Regions from separate parts of the Homo sapiens genome. Here all the other regions are linked to region 7. The links are contacts of gene promoters, found by promoter capture Hi-C in blood cells and fetal thymus (Javierre and others, 2016). All regions are on one chromosome and are shown on one strand. Each heading gives the region's core, a stretch centred on a gene start or on the middle of the fragment in contact. The rest is flanking DNA. Distances are from core to core; before and after follow the strand shown. Region 1 has its middle 32 kb from the start of LINC02029. Region 2 overlaps LEKR1 (leucine, glutamate and lysine rich 1). Region 3 overlaps KCNAB1 (potassium voltage-gated channel subfamily A regulatory beta subunit 1). Region 4 overlaps LEKR1 (leucine, glutamate and lysine rich 1). Region 5 overlaps LEKR1 (leucine, glutamate and lysine rich 1). Region 6 overlaps LEKR1 (leucine, glutamate and lysine rich 1). Region 7 holds the start of SSR3 (signal sequence receptor subunit 3).

Region 1 (3,157 bases), core at 443-2,942, 490 kb after region 7:
CCCTGTCTCAAAACAGCAACAACAACACCAGAAGTGTTAGTCGGTGCACCCTCTAAAATCATCTTCTATAATACCAACAGGCGACCACTGCACTGGACCTTAGGGTCTCTGATCTGTTGTTTGCATGTTTAAATTATGAGTACTCATGACATAAGGAAAATGGCAAAATCTAGTGAAAACTTTAGTGAAAGCACAAGAGATTATTGTGTGCAACAGTCTTTGTTATAGGGTTATACATGCTTTTTACAGTCTTGCAATTTCAGCTCATGGAGATACAGTGGGTCTGTATCTTCAGGAACCATGGGGATAAAGTAGGTTTCTTCATTTTTTCTAAGTTATGAACATATTTAGATTTATAAAGTCACACATAAGCTTTTCTAATGGTGATGTAGACTATTACTGCAAAACCTGATTTCTCAGTTTGCTATTACATTTTTGCCTTATTAGTACTTCGGTAAATAATCACTCTGAGAATAGAATCATGATCTGCAATGAGGTTGTATTATACTCCACAAATATATCAGAGAAGTAATTCCATGAATAAACAGAAATGTCATATTAACATTTATTTCAACCTAGACCATTTGAATGGCGACGACTAAGCTATGTTGCCTTTAAAGAAAGACATCTTTAACAACAAAAAAAATAGCGTTATAGTAGGTAACCTACAGGTTAGGAACACATTCAAACTTTTCTTGATTTTCTCACTGATAAATAAGTTCCTGGCATGAGACAGTTATAAGGAATCTTAGGAAAGTAATTGAGTAGGATGAAAAAATAAGGCTCCAAATGCATATAATGGATATTTAGTCTAATACTTTTAATTTCTCCATGGATTGATGTTTGCCATGACTTGCCATGGAAGGATTTACAGGTGTTAAGAGAAAAGATATCAAAGAAAATATTCCTTAGAGAAGTATAACCCTCTGGTTTTCTTCTTAAACTGGTATTCATGGACAAAGATGGAGAATTCTTCTAAGTTAACATAGAATTCTCAAACGATTTTTAAAAGTCTTATTGAATTAAATTACTATATTTGTAGTTGGTCAGAACTACTTAAAAGTCACATTTTCTGGTAAGGGAATTGACTGGAAGATACATTAACACAAAATTATGTAAGACTAAGATATTTTAATGTTCTGTTAGTCTGAAAGTTTTTGTCATATTTAAGATCAATTATTGCTAATTTATTTGACTATGGAGCTAGCTTTCTCAAGTTTTATCTTTTTAAATTCTTATGACTCTTACACTATTGCACTAATAGATCAACCTAGTATCCTAAAAGAGGTAACGCACTACAGCTGAAAATGTTTAACCATTGCGTTGCGGCTTATGGAGCACAGGAAATCAATTTGGTATGTGTTCAAAATTCACAAATGCTATCATGACTATAGATTATTAAACTTTTTTATTTTCACGTTTTAGGAAAATAATGTAGACCATCTCTTGCAAAGGACACCTTTAATGGTCCCCCAAATCATGACAGACAATTATGGTATCATTGCTAAGGTGGTATCAATGGTATTTTGAGAAAGAATTTGACTTTTCTGCTTGAAAATATTAACCCTGTTTAATACCACGTTGTGAAGCCAATACTATTGTGTTGCATTTTTAGAATATTAAATATAAATTATATCATCTTTGTATATTCTGAATTTTACATATAGAATTTTCTTAAGAACATAATAGATGAATCTGGGATACACTTTTCTATGACAATATTTACCATGATCTAGTAAGTCAAAAGATATCCCTCTCTTCCAACATTTATATAGCACAGTGCTTTATATTCATTAGTTAAAAAAAATTTACTAAACATCCCTTACTCCATAAGAAACTATGTGAGAATACTGAGTCACAGTAAGTAATTTGCCCAAAATTAAGTAATTTGGGCAAAATTACTTAAGTAATTTGGGCAAAATTACTTAAGTAATTTGCCCAAAATAATAATAGATTAATAAATAATTTTAAACTTCTGCAGTTTCTGAACATCTTGATCCATAGATTAATACTGAATCTGTATTATTCATTCACTCATTTCTTCAACAGACACGAGGAACTGAAAAAGTACTGTGAGAGCTACAAAGAAAATTAAAGCATCATACAGATTCCCAGGAATTATACAGTAGAGAGCAGGGAGAGAGCATATATAGAAATTAGAATATACAGCAAAGGATATTGGGTAAAAAGAGAATTGACAGCAGGGTGTTATGTGAATTCACCTTTTTGCTAGAAGAATCAGGGAATACTTTAAGCAAGAATTGGCATTTACAATGGATCTTGAAGAATAGATAGGATTTATGGAAGAAGGTATATTAGGTAGAAGAAATGTATAAAAAGAGTCACAAATTCTGTTTATGGGAAATGTAGAAGACATTTGGTGAAGGGAAGTAGTGGGAACCTGAAAAAGTAGGTTGACCTCATTGCATGAAGGTGTTGAATAAGGACCCACTGCAGGCTTTCAACTAGAAGTGACATGGTGTGCATTGTTGAAATTTGGAAGCATTGCTCTAGCAGGGGTGTATTGGAGTAATTATGAGATGGAAAGGCTGGAGATGGGATACTAGTTGGTGGACTAATACAGTAGTTCAGGCAAGAGTTAATGAAATTCTGAGTAAAGATATTGATATTGGGGATAAACAAGAGGCAACTGATTCAAATTCTATTCAGAGAAGGGAAAGGATTTGTTCCCTGTTAAATGCTATTTAATACCACTACCAGCCATTGCCATCTTAGCAGGAGTGCGTTTTATGAGACTGGCTCCAATTAAAGGATCAGCCCCTATCTAAGAATATTACAGCTTCTCTGAAACATGTGAAATAATAGAAACTACATTTTTATATAGGCAACAAATAACCCCACAGTCTCTGTATTCATTTTAAAAATCTCCTTAAAGTTAAAGGAAAATACTAATCTCAATAAATGTCCTAAGAATTATGGAGAAAGACTGGAAATTGACCTTAAAAAGAAATAACTATCTTGGCTTAAAGAATGCAAAGTGCAACTAAATGGGAAGCTTTGGGAGTAACACAGCACAATAAAACTTCTTTTTATTTTCAATAACCATTTATGAAGGAAAATAAAGAAGACAGCAGCTAACATAAAAATAAGAGTTATCTTAAAAATTAATAATTTTATAGTTCTGAAGGGCCTGATG
Region 2 (3,125 bases), core at 44-2,543, 440 kb after region 7:
CATTCTGGATGCTGGACGGAGAAGGTATTGGCAATGGGAGCAAGTCAGGACATTTACTGTTTTGATAAAGGATTTTATAGGTAGTGAAGCTTAAGAGATATGAGAAATATGAGGATCTCCAGCTCCTACACCCTGTCAGTTTCTGTTGGGTTAAGTGTCTATGTCAAGTGGGTAGTAGTAAAATAGCCATGGCTTACTCCATGGTGAGCCTAAGGGTTAAAAAGATCTTCTCATTCGGGCATGGTGGTTCATGCCTGTGATTCCAGCACTCTGGGAGGCCAAGGTGGATGGATCATCTAAGGTCAGTGGTTCGCGAACAGCCTGGCCAACATAGTGAAACCCCGTCTCTTCTAAAAATACAAAAATTAGCTGAGTGTGGTGGCGGGTGCCTGTAATCCCAGCTACTTGGGAGGCTGAGGCAGGAGAATCGTCTGAACCTGGGAGGCGGAGGTTGCAGTGAGCCGAGACTGCACCATTGCACTCCAGCCTGGGCAACAAGAGCAAAACTTCATTTAAAAAAAAAAAAAAAAGATATTCTGAAGAACAAATGGCCTTCAGAAGCTTTTGACATTACTGTCCTAACTTGTCTTGAAACGGTGGTCTTTTGGCTCCAGGGCAACCTGTTATTCGGTCTCTTTTCTAGCTCTGTTTTGGTTCTTTCCCCTTCCCTCCTGTGATCACCTGATTGCAGACATTCCTTAAAATTCACAATTGAACTTGACTTTCCTCTTTCCACTTTTTTCCTTCAGTAAACTGACCCTGTCTCAGCTTAGCAAGTTTGCTCTTGAAGCTTTGATTTGAAGCACCAATGGGACTTTTAAATAAGAAATTTCCTTAAGCAGTTGGAGGTGTGAACATCCCTCCAAAAGAAGCAGCTGGGCTCAGGAAACACTTTTAATATAGAGATGCTTGATAATACCCTAGGAGATTCTGGTTCAGTAGGTCTGGGTAGGGCCTAGGAATCTGCCACTTGGCAAAGTACCAAACCACTGCTGTGGAAGTATTACAACCAACCAGGCTACCAGATGTGCTCACCAAAGGCCAGAGCCCCATTCACTCCCACTGACTTTGTGTGCTTTCATAAATCCAAGCAGTGTCAGATACACACCAGCCTTCCTCCCTGACCCCTCAGGAGAGCAGAGCCCTTACTGAGGTCACAAATTGTGCAGTTTAGAAGCTGTGTATTTCAGAAGAGAAGAAAACGATGTAAAAAGCCAGAGGTGACCCTAGAAAAAAACTAGCAGAACTTCTGAATTTGGAGAAATAAGGGAATTAGTAACTAGCAAATAGTTCATTGATTAGTACAAATCTATTTATTTGGGCATTGCTATCTTCCCCACACTCAGCTGAGGAAGTGAAAGGTAGGGAAGAATCTTCAGTGAAAGGAAAAGAAGTAGGTCTTCTCGAATCATGGGATTCTGCAGGTAAAGACAGTCTGGCCAGCTTGGTCACGGACACACTGGGACTGGTGAAAGGGGTTTCCTTTATGGATGGAGAGGGATGCAGCAAGGCATAAGGATGATGTCAGAGAAAAGTGTGGCCATTTTTAAAATTCTTGTAAAGACAGCCCTCAGCTCCCATCCTACTGGGACACAAGGTCTCGGTGGCCAAGGTCAGAACTCTGCCCAGAACTGTGAATGTGCAACACTCCTTCAGGCATATTGTGGGTTAAAAAGTGTCCTGTTGGCTGACAGGGGCACCTAATTCCATCCTTAGGGAAAACTATTTCTATAGTAAAATATGTCTTAAATTCTCTATAACAAATGTACAAATATATTTTATAAGGACATATGTGTTTAAGCTTGAAGACTGCCTACATATAGCACTTGGAGAAATTCGCTTACACCAGCATGTGGCCTACAACCATACAGCCAGAACACACACTGTTTATAATAGCTCTCATACCCTTTGCATTCTTAGATGCTGTATTATCTTTATCTTGGTAAACTCCAAGAAAAAATACAGAAAGAGATTTATTGTGATCAATTTGCCCATAACATGATGGGAACAATGAAGAATGTTGTTAGAGGAAAAGCTTAATCGTAATTAAAGTTAGGTGCAAGTTGCTTATGTGTAAATTATTCTGAGATATAAATAATATACATCTGCATCTGTTTGGCTCTGCATTAAGTATTAAGATACTTATGTATCTTAAATGCAGTTTACTAAATTGTCCCCATTTCCCCATAAAGCATAATTTTTAAGCTACAGGGAAGGGTTTTATCCACTTCCCTCATCCTCACCTGCATTACATTAACTTCTCTTTTGGCCTCTCCTCTCTCCTTCATCTTTTTCTTTTTAGTCAAAAGCTATGAACCCTCACTGATATGGTTTGGCTGTGTCCCCACCCAAATTTCATCTTGAATTGTAGTTCCCATAATCCCCACGTGTCATGGGAGGGACCCAGTGGTGGTGATTGAATCATGGGGGCAGTTACTCCCATGCCATTCTCGTGATAGTGAGTGAGTTCTCACGAGATCTGATGGTTTTATAAGGGGCTTTTCCCCCTTTGCCCGGCACTCACTCCATCCTGCCGCCCTGTGAAGAAGGTGTCTGCTTCTCCTTTGCCTTACTCCATGATTGTAAGTTTCCTGAGGCCTCCCAAGCAATGCGGAACTGTGAGTCAATTAAACCTCTTTCCTTTATAAATTACCCAGTCTCGGGCAGTTCTTTATAGCAGCATGAGAACAGACAGACAATACACTCACTTCAGAAAAGTATACACAAAACCCAGCACATTATTTCAAGAGGTTTGTAGTCTCCTGTTTTCAAATATATGGCAGGACCTCATGATTAAACATACCTGCTTTCTCATTTTCTTTCTATCCCTCCTTCTGTCTCCTCTCTCCTCCCCTCCCTTTTTCTCCCCTCCCGTTTTCCTTTCTCTTTCTCAAGCTCTTTCACCTATCCGCAGGTTTCACAATGAGGAGCCCTCTAAGTGCTTCTGTAGACATTATCTTATCTTGCCTTCACGGCACCCTGTGCACAATGCCATGTACCATTTTGTGAGGCTCAGTGGAAGGGCTAAGGGGGACAGGAGGCCAGCCTGGGCTCTGCCATCATAGCTACTTGCCAGAGGAAGGGATTCACTTTTCTTGCATAAGTTTGCCATCTCTCCTTACCAA
Region 3 (2,861 bases), core at 200-2,699, 410 kb before region 7:
CAATTTTGCGTTGATTTTTGTATAAAGATGAGGTTTAGGTCAATGGTTCATTTATTTTTGTTTGTTGCTGTTCTGCTTTGCCTCGCTTATGGATATCCAGTTGCTCCAGCACCATTTGATGGAAAAGCTATTCTTCCTCCACAGATTTGCTCTTCATATTTGTCAAAAATAATTAGCCATATTTGTGTGAACCCTTTGCCTTTTACAACCACTTGTTGATATTTGTCTATCATTTGACAGCAACATCTGAAAGAGGTTAATGGACCTTTCACCCAAATGAATCATGCCTCTAGTATAAAAAATTATTTGATTACAAAATATTTAATAATTTAGAGAAGTCTCATTACATACTCATGAATCATCCCTAAGGCTTTATGGTCCTTATAAAAACAGATTGGCCCAGATCCCACCAAAATATTTCCTTTTACCTAAATAGAAAGACATGGGAAAAAGTTCCCATATTTTTTTTCCCCAGGGCCAGTACATAGTTGCTTATGTTTGACTCTGAGTACTTTAAAGGGATGAGAAAAGTGATTGGCCACCAAAAGCCTCCTTTATGCACAGGCCTGGGCAGGGACACACAACCAACAGCTCTGTCGGGAACTTAGGAGCCTGCTCGCCTACAAAAATGATAAGAGAGATCTAAAGAAAACAAGCTAAACCTTTTGAGGGACATACTGAAGCCAGATAACCCAAGGTATTCACAGCAAGATACAGTGAGTCTTAAAGTTAAGCACCGTGCAATTAGCTTTGCTTCCTTGGGTTTTTGAAACATGCATCTGTATAAACCTGCCTGTGCAGACATCCCGAGCCCCAAGCTGGGTCTGCCAAAATCCAGTGAATCGGCTCTAAAATGTAGATGGCACCTAGCAGTGACCAAGACTCAGCCTCAGGCGGCCTGCAAACCTGTGAGGCCCAGTGGAGCAGCCGAACAGAAATATGTGGAAAAGTTTCTACGTGTTCATGGAATTTCGTTGCAGGAAACCACCAGAGCAGAGACGGGCATGGCATACAGGTACTGCTGATTGCAAAGTCATCCAACCAGGGCACTGCACTGATGTCAAAGGTTGTTATTAAAGAAATAAGGACTGAAATAGCAAGACAAAACCCTGTAAGAAAAAGAAGGAAAAATGCAGTGAGCCCTCTTCTTGGGTTGCATTCTTGTTTTTTTTTTTTTTTTTTTTTTTTTTTTAGCTTTAAGCGTTCTCTTTTCTCAGAGGGTTACAGAAAAGACAGTCAAGTTCATCTGTGGAAACTCCTAACCATGTGCTCCAGAAGAAGTATCTTTGGCTCTGAGTAGGGAGGTGATTTGGCAGGTCAAAATGAAGAGTGGGGACTCCATTCTTCTTAAGGGAAAGAGAATTTATAAGTTAAGAGTAGAATTTTTTTTTTTAATGCTGCCTGGGATTCAAGACTTATTTTCTTCTAAACTTGAATCATGTGGTCTGTACTAATAGCTAATAAAGTAGTTCAAGTTCTCCTTGAAATGACAGCACTTTATTTATTTATTTATTTATTTATTTATTTATTTATTTTTTAAATCAGTGTCACCCAAGATAAATTACTGGTTGTACACTAAACTTCCAATATCATTATTTATTTTATGAAAGATTAACAAAAAGGAGAAATGTTTTCTTGGTATAGGGTTGGATGTGTAATCTTTATAAGTTGCTCTGTGATGGGAAGAATCTTTCCTATTCAGAGCAATTATTGCTCCTGCACAAGTGCTTCCTTTACGTACGCCTGGAGTTTTAAACAGCCCAGAAGCTGAGTAAAAGCTATTCAGAAGGACAAGGTACTGAAAACTGAAAAAACAATTTAGCAATTGTAAGAACAGTTGTCCTAGCTCATATCAAAACTTCTGCACAGCATAAGATTGTTTTTCATGTACAAGATGTCCCCAGTGATTTCATTTTTCCAAAATCTGAAGGTCTATTTCAGTGTAGTAGCTGCTGCTCTAATTTATCAGCTAATTATATTCATAAAGCAATTTGCAATGATATGGCTCCTCTCTGGAGAGCAAAGTATTTTACACAGACTCTATGTAATAAAAGGGTTGTGCAGAAAAGAAATGAACTCTTCTCAATTTATAAGGAGGATAGGACAGCCTACCACATCCTGCTTTAGAAGGGGAGCTCACCTTTTCATGGTAGCTCATGGAATGAGGAGGGATGGATGAGGAGGAGATGCTGCTGTTTCTTTCTGAATCTGTCACCGGAAGGAGCCTGCTTCTCTGTCCCCCCACGTTTTCTCTCTTCTCCGTGTTTCCTCGACCCTCAGTGGTGGTAGTGATGGTGATGTGAACACAGATCGGGCGAAGGGGAAGATGGACCATTTCACTTTTAAAAAAGTCTGCCTCCATGTCTTTGTCATAGGATGGGTGGTATTACCATGAATTGTTACATAAACCTTTAGAGGGTATGCCTTTCTCTCTCAAAAGTCTAGTTTAAATATCAATTACAGATCTGTGCTGTGTGCCAATGTTCAGATGAAGGTATGTTCTAGGAAAGCATTTTTCAAAGGATTATGAAGTAGAGGAACACGTTCTTCAGACAGGTGAAAGCAAAGCTGCCTCAGCTAAAGGTGGGAGCTTGGAGCCCACCTGCTTGAGGGGAGCAGTCATCCCCCAGCCTCTTCTGAGACACCTATGTGGATTCCATACTCCCCATAGGTTTTGGGCGACTCTTCATGATGCCTTGGTGGGGAAGGCTCTGTTACCTTGGAGATGCCAGATACTGCCTTGGACAAGGGTGTATGCTACCATATCACACCCTAGTAAGAAATGGGACTTAGGAGAATGTTGCCCCTAAATCAGTTTGAGGGGAGAAAAGCACAGTTTAATTGATCATTAACCCTAAGAA
Region 4 (2,983 bases), core at 375-2,874, 410 kb after region 7:
CAAACTATGTAAATATCTCTCTGCTGTACCTTTCATCCCCCCCACCCATGTTCCCTACCAATGTGGTATTAATTGAAAGCATGCTAAGCCAAGAATCAGAACATGATGACCCTTTCACACATTAGGCAGGTGACTCTGACATGCCATTTATCCTTAATGAATATATGTCCACACCTAGGCAATGAATGGATAGAACTAAGACCTTGGAAGGCCCTTTGGGCTCTGATATGCTATGATTCTGGTTCTAACTCTGATGGCATTTTCTTGTTTCCAAAGTTAAATAAATGCTCATATTTTTCACATTTTGTTACTTGTTTCCTTGTAAATCACCACTGAAAAGTTTCAGCTTTGATTCAAGTATATGATTTTTGTTTGGTTGGTTGGTTGGTTTTGTTTTGAGATGGAGTCTCACTCTGTTGCCCAGACTGGAGTGCAGTGGCGCGATCTCGGCTCACTGCAACCTCCACCTCCTGGATTCAAGTGATTCTCGTGCCTCAGCCTCTGGAGTAGCTGGGATTACAGACATGCGCCACCAAGCCTGGCTAATTTTTGTATTTTTAGTAGAGACGGGGTTTCACCATGTTGGCCAGGCTGGTCTCAAACTCCTGACTTCAGGTGATCTGCCCTCCTAGGCCTCTCAAAGTACTGGGATTACAGGCGTGAGCCACCATGCCTGGCCCAAGCATACGGTTTTTATGATCATTACTTTTCTACATGAAAAACTTTTAACTTTGTTTTCCCCACATTTTTTCCCTTTATTTCTGTCTTGAAATAGAGATGCTCAAAAATTTAAATACATGTGTTAATTCTGGTGCATATAGTTTAATAGTGGTTTAGGAGTAAATAATGGGCTATCAATAGCAACCTAACTCTTAATGCCAAAATTTGATTTTTTCATAGAAAAGCCAACATATGAAGTAAAAATTTGAAGACCAAATTTTTTGTTTCCTTTTGAAGATTTATTTACCTAAGTTCTGTAATTTTATGTTTAGCTCACACTAATAACTTCCAAAATGCACAATTTATCTCAATTGATATAATCCTCTCAGAGGTCATTGTGACCCACAGTCAGTCTACTTAAATGATTTTCCTTCCACCTGCTAGAATAAAATGTCCTTTACTTTTTGTCAGCAGTCACAAATATTGGAAGACAGAGTTCAAATAAGTCACTTCAGCATTCAGCTTATTTTTAATATCCTTCCTTAATTTATTTTACCAACTTTCAAATTTATTCCAAGTGAAAAAACTTTTGACTTTTTAATTTTAGTAAGCTGTTCAGTATAGTAAATAACACAAATACTTTAAAAAATGATTTTGCATATAACATTTTAACATCCTAATTGAATCTTTTAAAACAGCTTTACAGAGATAAAATTCACAAATTACAAAATTCACCCACTTTAAGTGTACAATTCAGTGGTTTTTAGGATATTTGCAGAGTTGTGTGACCATCAGCAAAGTCGAATTTTGGGAGATTTCTTTCACACCAAAAAGAAACTTTGTGGCCATCAACAGCCACTCCCCTTACACTCCTGCCCCTTTCCAACAATCCTTAACCTACTTTCTATCTCTATAGACTTACCTATCCTGGACATTTTATACAAATAGAACCATACAATATGCGGTCTTTTGTGTGTGGCGTCTTTCACTTAGGATAATGTTTGTGAGTTTCATCCATGTTGTAGCATATGTAAGTACTGCATTCCTTAATTAGTAGCTTGTTTAGTGCTTGTGATTCAAGTCACAAAATGAGTGATGTGGTTCAGTTGGAAAAAATACTGAGCTGGGATCCAAACAGTTCTGCTTTCTGGTACTGTTTAGGCCTTGTATAGGCCCTTTGAATAAGTTATTAATTTCTATGTCTCAGTTACTTCATCTGTAAATTGGGAATATGGTAGCTTTTCTTACCTACCTTAATACATTAGAATAGGCAAGATAAAATGTAAGATCATCTAAAGAACTATATATTCAAATGTATTTTAAAGTAACTTTCCTGATGTGATAGCAAACCAAATGATTATATTTAGTATACAAGCATTCAAATTTCTTTAAATACTACTTTAATTTCAGAAGAAAGCTATACATTTTAATTTCTCTTTGCCCAAAGGTGTATTCACCTCGACTTGTTTATTTTCTAGTCAGCCCTGATTAGCTGTAACAGTAGTCTGCCTGCTCTTAGAAAAGGTTACTGAAGAAGAGAGTGCCTATGTTTAATTCAGGAGTCATCCGTCTGTATGGCAGATAGAGATCTATGAACACAGATCCACAAGGACCTTACCTGCAAGGTCTGATTTTCAGAGAGCACTCACTGTAGTGACTTGATCAGCCTTTATGATTCCTTTTGAACTGTTGGACTTTAGTTGGAATAATATGACCTTGGCTTCAAATAAAAGGGGAAAGTGCTGATTTTACAAACAGAAAACCAAGGAAGTTTGTAATTATTTTTAGTTGTATTAAATCCAACAGCCCTTAAAAGAGACCAGCTTGATAATGAACCACTGTGGGCTGCTTCTGTGTCCAAAAGTAGATGGACAAAAAGTTTAGCCTGATCTCTAGACAAATTGCAAGCCAGGCAGTATTAACTAAAATTCTAAGAAATCTTTTTTAGAACCTGATCACCATTTGAAATGTGAGTCTTATAAAGGGATCTCCTGTGGAAGCCATGTGATCTTTGATCACTGGAGTCGTCTAAGATTATCTTTGTTTTCTTGCCTTTTCATTTGCTCCCAACATTGAACTTTCATCTAAAGATTACCACTGTTTTATGTATCATCTCCATTTTATTAATGTTTGAATCATAGAGGAATTTTCTATAATGATCATAGGCATCTACTCCTTATAATGGTTGTCATTCATCTGAGACTCCTTTCTCTCCTTTGAGATAGCTGTAATTCTGGTTCATTCTCTAGTCATTTTTCATTTGTGCCATTGCAACCTTCTCTCCTTGTTCTTTACCTCCAACATCATTTTCTTATTCTAAGGC
Region 5 (3,103 bases), core at 305-2,804, 470 kb after region 7:
GAACCACCTTGAGAAGCAATACATTTTCAGAATATTCAAGTGTTTTCTACAACTGTGCTGTCCGTCATGATAGCCACATGTGGCTGCAAAAGTTTCCATTAAATTAATTAAAATTAAATACAATTTAAATTCAGTTCCTTGGTCACATTAGTCATATTTCAGGTGCTCAATAGTCAATACTCTTTTTTGAGAGCTATGGTTAGAGTATTTACACCATGGAAATTACATACAAATCTTGCTTTTTTTTTTTTAAATTTGAGAGTCAGTTGTTAAACATTTACCAGCACCGTCAGTAGTCACATGTGGCTAGTGACTACCATATTGGATAGCATAGAATATCTCTAACACCACAGAAAGCTCTGTTGGGCAGTACTGTTCTGGAAGGCATAGTATCTGGAGTTCCTCCAGCCATTATATACAAAAAAGAAAAAAAAATTATGTTAAAGAAAAATTTATTGGTACAGTTAGGGTAAAGTATAACTCTAGTGCTCTCCTCCTTGCATTCCCCCAAAATCAGGCATTTTGAGATCCCAAAGCCAACCTAGTTAGGTCCAGACAGTCCCCTGATCTACTTGTCAAGACTTGAGCTGAGGCTGGGCACAGTGGCTCACAGCTGTAATCCCAGCACTTTGGGAGGCTGAGGCAGGAGGATTGCTTGAGCCCAGGAGTTTAAGACCAGCCATGGTAACACAGAGAGACACCATCTCTACAAAAAATAAAAAATTAGCCAGGGGTGGTGGCATGAGTCTGTGATCCAGCTACTGGAGAGGCTGAATTGGTAGGATCGTTTGAGCGCAGGAGGTCAAGGCTGCTGAGAGCCATGATTACACCACTGCACCACTGTGCTCCAGCCTTGGCAACAGAGCAAGACCCTGTCTCAAAAAAAAAGACTTGTGCTATCCTTTGTAGCTTAATATAGTCACAGAAATTTATATATTTCCAAAAGTGCCCAAGTGATTAATGTGATACTGTTTTAAGTAGAAAAATAAATGTTTTAGTCTTTTAAAAAGAAAATCTTGAAGGCCTGCACATCATGGGTTTGGTTTCATCTGATCAAGTGAGTACACTGATTAATGAAAATAAACCTCTTAAAAACCATAAGAATTCTGTGGTTACCTAGAAACTATCGCCTACAAGCTAATATGAGATTTATCTTACAGATATCTGACTTAATCACAGGCGCTACAAGAGATCTAAGGCAGGAAGTGACCACTCTTAAAGAAAAACTTCACAAATCCCATATTCGGTACACTGAAGAATCTAATTCAAAGGAAAAAGAAATTGAAAATCTTAAAAATTTGGTTGCAGAATTTGAATCTCGCTTGAAGAAGGAAATTGACAGTAATGATTCAGTTTCAGAAAACTTGAGGAAGGAAATGGAACAGAAGTCGGATGAACTGAAAAGAGTAATGCTGGCTCAAACACAACTGATAGAGCAATTTAACCAGTCCCAGGAAGAGGTAGGAAGCAGATAGTGGTAACTTTGCAATTAATCAAAGAGCACATGTTCTTTCAACAAACAAACAAAAACGTGAAAGGCAGCTTAGTTTCATGGAAAGAGTCCTGGAATGTTAGTCTGACCTAAATCACATCCTGGTGCTCTGTCCTTAATCACATCCTGGTGCTCTGTCCTTAACTTTAGGCAGTCACTTAGCCTCTCCAGACCTGGCTTTCCTGTGAACTACATAATCTCTAAAAGTTTCCTTAGCACCTAGTTCTTTCTTGCAAATAACTATTTTAAGCCTCTAAGAGTAGGAATCTTTATATGTTTATGTCTTATTTGTTTTAACGTTAAATTGTTGCCAAATAAACTTTTAGAGAACTTTCTGCATACATTTAAAAAAATTAGACTATGTCTTTTAAACACAATTTTACCTTAGGTTTTTACTTCCTATCAATGTAAACTTATAAGGTAATATGCATGCGTCGGTTTTCTTTCTTATGTATGTATGATTATTTCAGTGATGGTTTTCATTCAAACTGGAGTAGACCTATTTTGATTTGAAAACATTTTTGAAAGTCTTATGTCTGAACTACTGAGCAGTTTAGAAATACTGAAACAATTCATCTGTTCTCTAATCATCAATATCATATCACATTACAATATTTGATCCCTTTGATGACAGTATAGCAAATAAAGGTAAATGGAGGAAGATTCTGAATGTTGGTGAGAAGTAATATCTTTGTTGGTTTGGCATCAGTAAAGGCATAAAAGGAAAGTGCTAACAGCAATATCGATTATTAACAATTAAATATGCCATGGTCTTGCTATATTTAAATTATCAGCCAAAATAGAAAGTTTACATAATCATTGTAATTATGTAATTATGAAGTGAACCTATTACAAAGAAGTTATAAATATAAGATAAAATATGGAGTAGATAGAATACTAGATCAAGAATAATGCCTAAAACAACTCTATAAGTAGAAATTATTTACATGTTACAAATGAGGAAGAGACTGAAGAAGGTTGAATAATTTCCATAAGGTCAGACAGTTTGGTGGAGCCAAGATTCAAATTCGAATCTCTATGATATGATGTTTCCTCTTTTGGGAAACCCAGTTCTTATTATTCTGCTTCTGTATTTCACAGTGACCACAGACTTAGCAGTTATAATCTCCAGGGACTCAATTTTCTTTTAGTATTATAATTAAGACAAAAAGATGATTAAGTTCTCTTGTTGTTACACAGCAGCTCAGTCCCCCCAATGAAGGAAGCCGCACCCCTAGTTCAGGCAGGAGTAAGGAGGGAGAGCACACGTGGACTTAGCTCTGCTAGAGAAACCCTGAGAAAGAGAGAAGTGATGCTGATTTGCCTCAAATGAGACAGCAGTAGTGAATCTCTAGAGGAGGGAAGCAGGATAAAGGACAGAAAGATTGAGGCAACTAGACTAGCAGGTTTTCTAACTATTCATTCACAAAAGAAATGGCAATATAGAAAATGAGGAGTAACTTATAAACTAGGACAAACAGAAAAAGACGGAAGGGCCAAATTCAGTAAATGTATATTAGCATCTGTGTTACTCTGTTCTTGCCTTAGTCTAAAGGAATATGTGAGACTGGATAATTTATAAAGAAAAGAGGTTTAGTTGGCTCATGGTTC
Region 6 (2,906 bases), core at 9-2,508, 430 kb after region 7:
GCCTATTAGCTGTTTGAAAATCAGCATGGTGGTGGGGGCAGAAAGAGGCCAACAAATTGGGCCTGTCAAAACCCATTAAGTCTGTGGGGTGTTAGGATAGGGAGGGCTGAGTAGGCAATGATAAGTTGCATATGGACATACAGGCAAAGTGGAATAAGCAGCTGCCTTATTCTTCAGGAGCTGACTAGCAACAAAAGAATATGGTTTACTCTATGAAAATATCTGGACACTTAAAATGTACTAATCAGATGAAATACATTGTGTCATTTCAGATTTACAATGTCTAGTAGAGGCACTTGGATTAAAACTTCAGAAGGCGGTGACAGAGATGGACAACTATAAAGAAATGCTTATGTAAGATGGAGAATATTAAACAACTTATAACAGTGCTCTGTAGATGTGTTACAAAATGGCAAGAATTAGGAAGAAATGACAAGAATTATAAAGACCCTGGTGTGTTCTCTGTGATTCTTTTGGCAGTGATTTACTGGTGTGGGTAATAGTTTACTGCTGCTTTTCTTGCCCACTTTACTGGCCTAGATTATATATTGAAGAACCTGTAAATATTTTTAAATACATGGAGGATTTCTTTCTCTCAATAAGAAACTTACTTATCCATATATTAAAGCTTTCCCTGATAGTTCAAATGCAGTAACTTAATGTGAAATAGTCTTTGAACTTTTTTCTTATCTTTGTTTCTTTATTATCTCTCCACAAGAAACAATATTGAACTTGTATCTCAAAATTACTAATTTTAGCTTCAAAGAGAGAGTTGAGTAGCTTTGAAATGCTGAAGTACTTATGCTTGATATAAGTGAGAAAGAAATATTGGAAAACACGTGATAAGAAAATGATGTAAAATCAAGAACACTATTTCTTTTAAAAATTAATTTTCAGCCTGGGCAACACGGAGAAACTTTGTCTCCACAAAAAAATACAAAAATTATCCATGCGTGTTGGCACACTCCTGTAGTCCCAGCTACTCGGGAGGCTGAACTGGGAAGATCACCTAAGCCTAGAAAGTTGAAGCTACAGTGAACCATGATCATGCCACTACACTCCAGCCTGGGCGACAGAGTGAGACCCTGTCTCAAAATGAATAAATAAGTAAAAATTACTTTTATTTCAGAAATTTCAAAAATTATAGCATAAACATAGTATATCTATAATTATAATACTAAAATAGTATGTATATAATCTTTGAAAAGTAAGTAGATTCTTTTACTTTATGATATATATGATTTTCAGTTCCTATATTTTAGGAGGATGAACCTCATAAAAACATAAATATTTAGAATGCTTAGCAACCAAATGTTTGTGTTGACCATGAACTACTCCTAAAATCAATGTGTTTAATAAAATACTGAACACAAGAAGGAACAAATACCAAAAATACCCTATCAAATTAATGTATACTTGGATTATTTGTAACAAAATAGTTTGTTTCTGAAAAGGAAAATAAAATATTCATACTTTATAACACTGTGGTTAATAGTACAGTAAGTATAGTAGTTCAGGTGTCTGTGTAGATGGCTGGGGTTGAAGGAATTGGTGGACGGGGGTCCTTAGAAGACCCCCTAGGCCCAGGAAGTAACTTTTTGGGAGATTGTTTTAAATCATGAAAAGAAACAAGGTGATGGTTGCTAGAAAAAAAAAAATCGTTGTTGCTGTCCCTCTAATAACATCAAGGAGGGGTTTGGCCATGTGGATATCTCTTGTGGAAAGCAGTCTAGTCAGGCCCCAGCTACTGTGTGATGATTGCTTCTTGGAGTGAAGAGGGCACAGTCTAGGCATAGGGAGGTGGTGTTAGCACACAACTAAGCTAAGAGGGAATTTGTGGGCATACCAAGACTTAGCATATATAGTGGAGTCTTAGAAAGTTAGGAAAGAAGCTTAACATAGAAATGAGCATAGTGAAGAAAAGGAATAAACTTACTGGTAGTGACATGAATTGATATTTTACAGAATAAGTTGGCACAGAATTCTGTGTATATTCATGTTCTGCATAATGACATTTTGGTCAGTGACAGACCATGTATACAAAGATGGTCCTATAAGATTATAATACCGTATATTTACTGTACCTTTTCTATGGTCAGATATGTTTAGATATGCAAATACTTACCATTGTGTTACAATTACCTACACTATTCAATACATTAGCATTCTGTATAGGTTTGTAGCCTAGGAACAATAGGCTATATCGTATAGCCTACGTGTGTAGTAGGTTATTCCATCTTGGTTTGTGTACACTCAAGGATGTTCACACAATGACAAAATTGCGTAATGACACATTTCTTGGAATGTACCCCTGTTGTAAAGCAATGAATGACTGTGCATGGAGCCTGCCCATTTAATATTAACACATGCTTTGTGGTATTTTTGTTTATTATAATTTTAACATAACTTGTGCTGAGAAATGGTGAGAGTCAGGGTAGACTGGAGATGCAGGGAGAAATACACCACTAAAGTCCATCAAACTAATTATCTGTAGGAAGTTACTGTATAATTGCAGAAATGCTGATGATGTTTTATCAGTTTATAAAACTAATGTTTCCTACACGTACAAGACCTTCTTAACAATTAAAAAATGGAGATGATGCCCATTTTTAGAAATGCGAATTAGGAAAGATAGAGCCACTTAAATGGCTCCAAGTGCTGGAGACCTTTCTCTATGCTACCTGTCTCTAGCTCTTCCATCTATACTCTATCTACTCTCCTTTACTGCTAGGATTAAGTTGAGGAGTATGGGCATTTAGGATCAAAGCCTGGGACTGCTTAAAGCCTCAGGTTGCTCAGAGGTCAGGAGGTGAGGCTAGAGTCAAATGTGTGGCTTCGCCATTTTTGTAATGATAAGTTTGAAGTCAAAACAGTTCATTCAAAAAATTTGATATATTAATACAATT
Region 7 (3,156 bases), core at 110-2,609:
TATGCCATATTCGCCAGTATAACCCTGAATTAAAATAAAAGGGGGAAGGGTACAAAAAGAAGCAAAACATTACAACCCCGCAACAAAAGCCTGCGAAATTAATTATAGCTAAGCCTGGTAAAATACCAGGTTATTAGTTATGCAATCCAATAGTATCTGAGGATCTTCAGAAGCGAGATAACCAGTAACAGTATAGTCTCAAGCTTTCCAGTTCAGAACATTTGAAAAACATCACCTTCCTATTACTAGTCCAGATGAGATTTCAACTTCTAAAATGAGAACAAACTCTGGCTCAACGTAATCACAAGTCAGACTTCAAATTTCATTCATCAGGGTACTAGCATGCGAAACACAGGCCATTCCAAAATGCCACGTGCAGCCCCAAACCATAGTTTCCTTGCTGACGTGGCTGTTATCAGAACTCCAAGCAGTGCTATGTCCAATTAGTGAGCCATCATATGGCTTCACATCACGTTAATGGCACGCTGGGTTGTATAAGGACAAAAGAGAAAAATACATTTAGTTTTAAATGCCCAACAACAGTGCAGCAAAAGACAGGAGTTCTGGAAACTTGAGCTCTACTAAAAACGACCTTGTCCAAGTCTGCAGTTTCCCAACCAAGTGAGAATTCTAGAATTGGTCCAGTAGGATTATTAAAAAGTATAAATAAGGTAGATCCCTAACCCCTGGCACTTCAACCTCTCTCTTTTTGCAAAAACCAGGAAAATTATGCAATGGTGTGAAGTAGCTCACGTAAAGATGCACTTATAATTCAGTGGGTCACTTCATGGGTTTCTCACCTAACTAATTTATGCAAAATAAGTAATAAGTTTAAAATTTCGTAACGGCAAGCAACAGTTGTATAGAAAAGGGCAGAGGCAGTATGCTTGAGTTTGTCTGTTTAAATAGAGATTCGGGGCCGCCACCCCAGAACTAGTTAACCACCTTCTCCTGGGGTGGAGCTCGGGAACGTGCGTACTTTTAACAAGTGACCTCCCCGAGTGCTGCACAGGACAATCCCAAGCGACAACACTGTGCCCAAAGAAGAGGCTCCGTGCCTCCCCGAGCTCAGGGGAGCTGGAGAGATTGCCGACCCCCGGCCGGCACCCACGCCTTCCCTGCTCGCCGGGTCCTGCCACGTCCCCGCCCAGCCCGACTAGCCGGCGGCCTGCCTAACCCGCCTCGCTCCCAGCACTCACAGATGGGGATGGCAGACACGATGAACGCGTTTCCGAAGAAGAGCGCGGAGGACTTGGCCGAGAGATTGCGGCTGAAATCCTGCAGGAGCAGGTCCTCCTCAGACTGCTGTTTGGAGCTGCCTTTAGGAGCCATGGCGGAGCTGCAGGCGAGAACAGGGAACGTAGAGCCGGCCGCCAAGGCGGGCAAAGGCCCTTGACTCCGCCCCTGCGGCCGCCGTATCCGCTAACGACCCGTCAGCGCGGCGCGCGGAGGCGGGACCCGGTTTGGCGAAGAGCAAGCGTCCCCAGGATTGGCCAGCTTGGCGCCACTAGATAGGCTTCCGGGCGTGATTGGGCGAGCGGGCCAGACTTCCGGATTCCTGACAAGCCACGTGACCCACCCACCTGGAGGAGAGAGAAGGGATTTGTAGTTTAGTCGGTGCTTTAAAAAAAATTAACAAAACTTTATTGATATTCCACTTCAGAGCTGCTGACAGACTCACGAGTTCTCAGTTCTTCAGAATTCCAAAATTAAAAGCTCTTCTGGCCCCACGCCATTAGTGCCCTCTGTGCGTACCCAGGACTGAGTACGTTGAAGAAGAAAGAAGAGAAAGGTATAGCTAACTCATGTAAAATCCCTTCTCCTTTACACATCCTTTATTTCATTAAATACCTTGAAGAATCTTATGACGTGCGCATCATTACCGCCATTGCAGCTGAAGAGCCTGAGGGTCGTAGACCTGCGGTGTGGGTCTCCAAGGCGTGGGCTCTTTTCACTAAACAATAGGCCACCTCTGTAGGAAGAAGAAAATGGGACTCTTGCTTTTAAGAAACTCATGATCTCATTGATGAAGGCAATATTTAATATATGTCTGATACAAGTTACTACTATTTTATTTTATTTCAACTAGACCTATAGAGTTTTGTGGCTTCCAAAGCCATGCTAAATAAAACATAATACTAAGAACAGGTTGGCTAGGCAAGACTCCCTCTCTGAAGCTCAGAAGGATTAAGTATGTCTATTAAAACAGCTAGATTCCATTTTTAACTCAACACATTATCATTTTTTCTTCAAAAAAAAATTCAACCACATCACTCCCAGCAAATGCTACTTTTGATTACTGAGAACACTCTAGTGCATTAGGCACAATTTCCTCAACCTCCAGCCTCCTTATTAACCGTTTGGTAGATATCTTTCTTCCTCACAGTATCCAAATTGTAATCTACCTCCACAGCTTCCTATTACTAGTCCTAATTGGGCTTTTGTCTTCAATCTTTTCCAGTCTATTCTCTATACAGGTACCAGAGTGAGTTTTCCTGAAATATAAATCCTTCCATTATCTACCGCAAGTGTTCCTTAATGCCAGAAGTTTTCATTAATTCACCACAAAATGAAAAAGAAAAAAAGACCATCTAGTGAATTTTTCAGAAAATCAAAAGTATTCATTTAAAAATATCTGGGTTTATGTCTTTTTTGATGTTAAAAATGCTCTTTATTTTATTACATGGTAGTGATAGAAGAAGAAATTATTATTTTCTCTTACACATACTCCTCCCCCAGTTTTTCCTATCTCACTAAGTTGCATTCTTTTAAACTCATTTGTTGTTCTGGTTAAAATAGTGGGTTTCAACACTAATTATTTTTTTCCTTCTCCATCTATGACCAATTCATAAATAAAACTTTTTGGATCTGTCTCTATAACTAGATTTTCTTCTGCCTATTTATAAACAAACTAAGGATATAAAAAGAAGATAAAAGATAAAAATCAGAGGCTGGGTGCGGTGGCTTATGCCTGTAATCCCAGCACTTTGGGAGACCAAGGTGGGTGGATCACAAGGTCAAGAGACCGAGACCATCCTGGCCAACATGGTGAAACCTCGCTTTTACTAAAAATACAAAAATTAGCCAGGCATGGTGGCGCACGCCTGTAGTCCCCAGCTACTCAGGAGGCTGAGGCAGGAGAATCACTTAAACCCG

The links. Contacts are between HindIII fragments. The CHiCAGO score rates a contact against its expected background, and 5 or more counts as called.
Region 1: a fragment that was not itself captured here is called in contact with the fragment with the promoter of SSR3 in region 7 in 8 of 17 cell types (total B cells, non-activated CD4 T cells, activated CD4 T cells and 5 more); the score reaches 8.4 in total B cells.
Region 2: a contact is called between a fragment that was not itself captured here and the fragment with the promoter of SSR3 in region 7, in 4 of 17 cell types (naive B cells, non-activated CD4 T cells, naive CD4 T cells and 1 more). The highest score is 6.4, in naive B cells.
Region 3: a fragment that was not itself captured here is called in contact with the fragment with the promoter of SSR3 in region 7 in 6 of 17 cell types (naive CD8 T cells, naive CD4 T cells, total CD4 T cells and 3 more); the score reaches 11.1 in naive CD8 T cells.
Region 4: a contact is called between a fragment that was not itself captured here and the fragment with the promoter of SSR3 in region 7, in 1 of 17 cell types (total CD8 T cells). The highest score is 5.1, in total CD8 T cells.
Region 5: a contact is called between a fragment that was not itself captured here and the fragment with the promoter of SSR3 in region 7, in 4 of 17 cell types (total B cells, naive B cells, non-activated CD4 T cells and 1 more). The highest score is 8.0, in total B cells.
Region 6: a contact is called between a fragment that was not itself captured here and the fragment with the promoter of SSR3 in region 7, in 6 of 17 cell types (total B cells, naive B cells, non-activated CD4 T cells and 3 more). The highest score is 10.5, in total B cells.

The regions. Positions count from the first base shown.
Region 1 is chr3:157,047,856-157,051,012 of GRCh38, forward strand. No RefSeq gene overlaps it. Among named protein-coding and RNA genes, the nearest start is that of LINC02029, 32 kb to the right of the region's middle. The HindIII fragment of the contact is 2,644 bases long and covers 371-3,014 here.
Region 2 is chr3:156,996,551-156,999,675 of GRCh38, forward strand. The region is part of intron 9 of LEKR1 (leucine, glutamate and lysine rich 1); the gene reads left to right. Among named protein-coding and RNA genes, the nearest start is that of LINC02029, 84 kb to the right of the region's middle. The HindIII fragment of the contact is 1,011 bases long and covers 789-1,799 here.
Region 3 is chr3:156,142,406-156,145,266 of GRCh38, forward strand. The region is part of intron 1 of KCNAB1 (potassium voltage-gated channel subfamily A regulatory beta subunit 1); the gene reads left to right. Among named protein-coding and RNA genes, the nearest start is that of KCNAB1, 23 kb to the left of the region's middle. The HindIII fragment of the contact is 8,066 bases long and covers 1-2,861 here.
Region 4 is chr3:156,959,907-156,962,889 of GRCh38, forward strand. The region is part of intron 6 of LEKR1 (leucine, glutamate and lysine rich 1); the gene reads left to right. Among named protein-coding and RNA genes, the nearest start is that of LINC02029, 120 kb to the right of the region's middle. The HindIII fragment of the contact is 4,848 bases long and covers 1-2,983 here.
Region 5 is chr3:157,026,943-157,030,045 of GRCh38, forward strand. It overlaps LEKR1 (leucine, glutamate and lysine rich 1), which reads left to right. Exons shown (of 13, transcript NM_001004316.3): 12 at 1,161-1,460. Among named protein-coding and RNA genes, the nearest start is that of LINC02029, 53 kb to the right of the region's middle. The HindIII fragment of the contact is 3,184 bases long and covers 1-3,103 here.
Region 6 is chr3:156,978,922-156,981,827 of GRCh38, forward strand. It overlaps LEKR1 (leucine, glutamate and lysine rich 1), which reads left to right. Exons shown (of 13, transcript NM_001004316.3): 7 at 273-354. Among named protein-coding and RNA genes, the nearest start is that of LINC02029, 100 kb to the right of the region's middle. The HindIII fragment of the contact is 1,264 bases long and covers 627-1,890 here.
Region 7 is chr3:156,553,758-156,556,913 of GRCh38, forward strand. SSR3 (signal sequence receptor subunit 3) reads right to left here and starts at 1,360. Exons shown (of 5, transcript NM_007107.5): 1 at 1,200-1,360; 2 at 1-24. The coding sequence starts at 1,332. RefSeq lists an enhancer at 1,219-1,298. The HindIII fragment of the contact is 5,682 bases long and covers 202-3,156 here.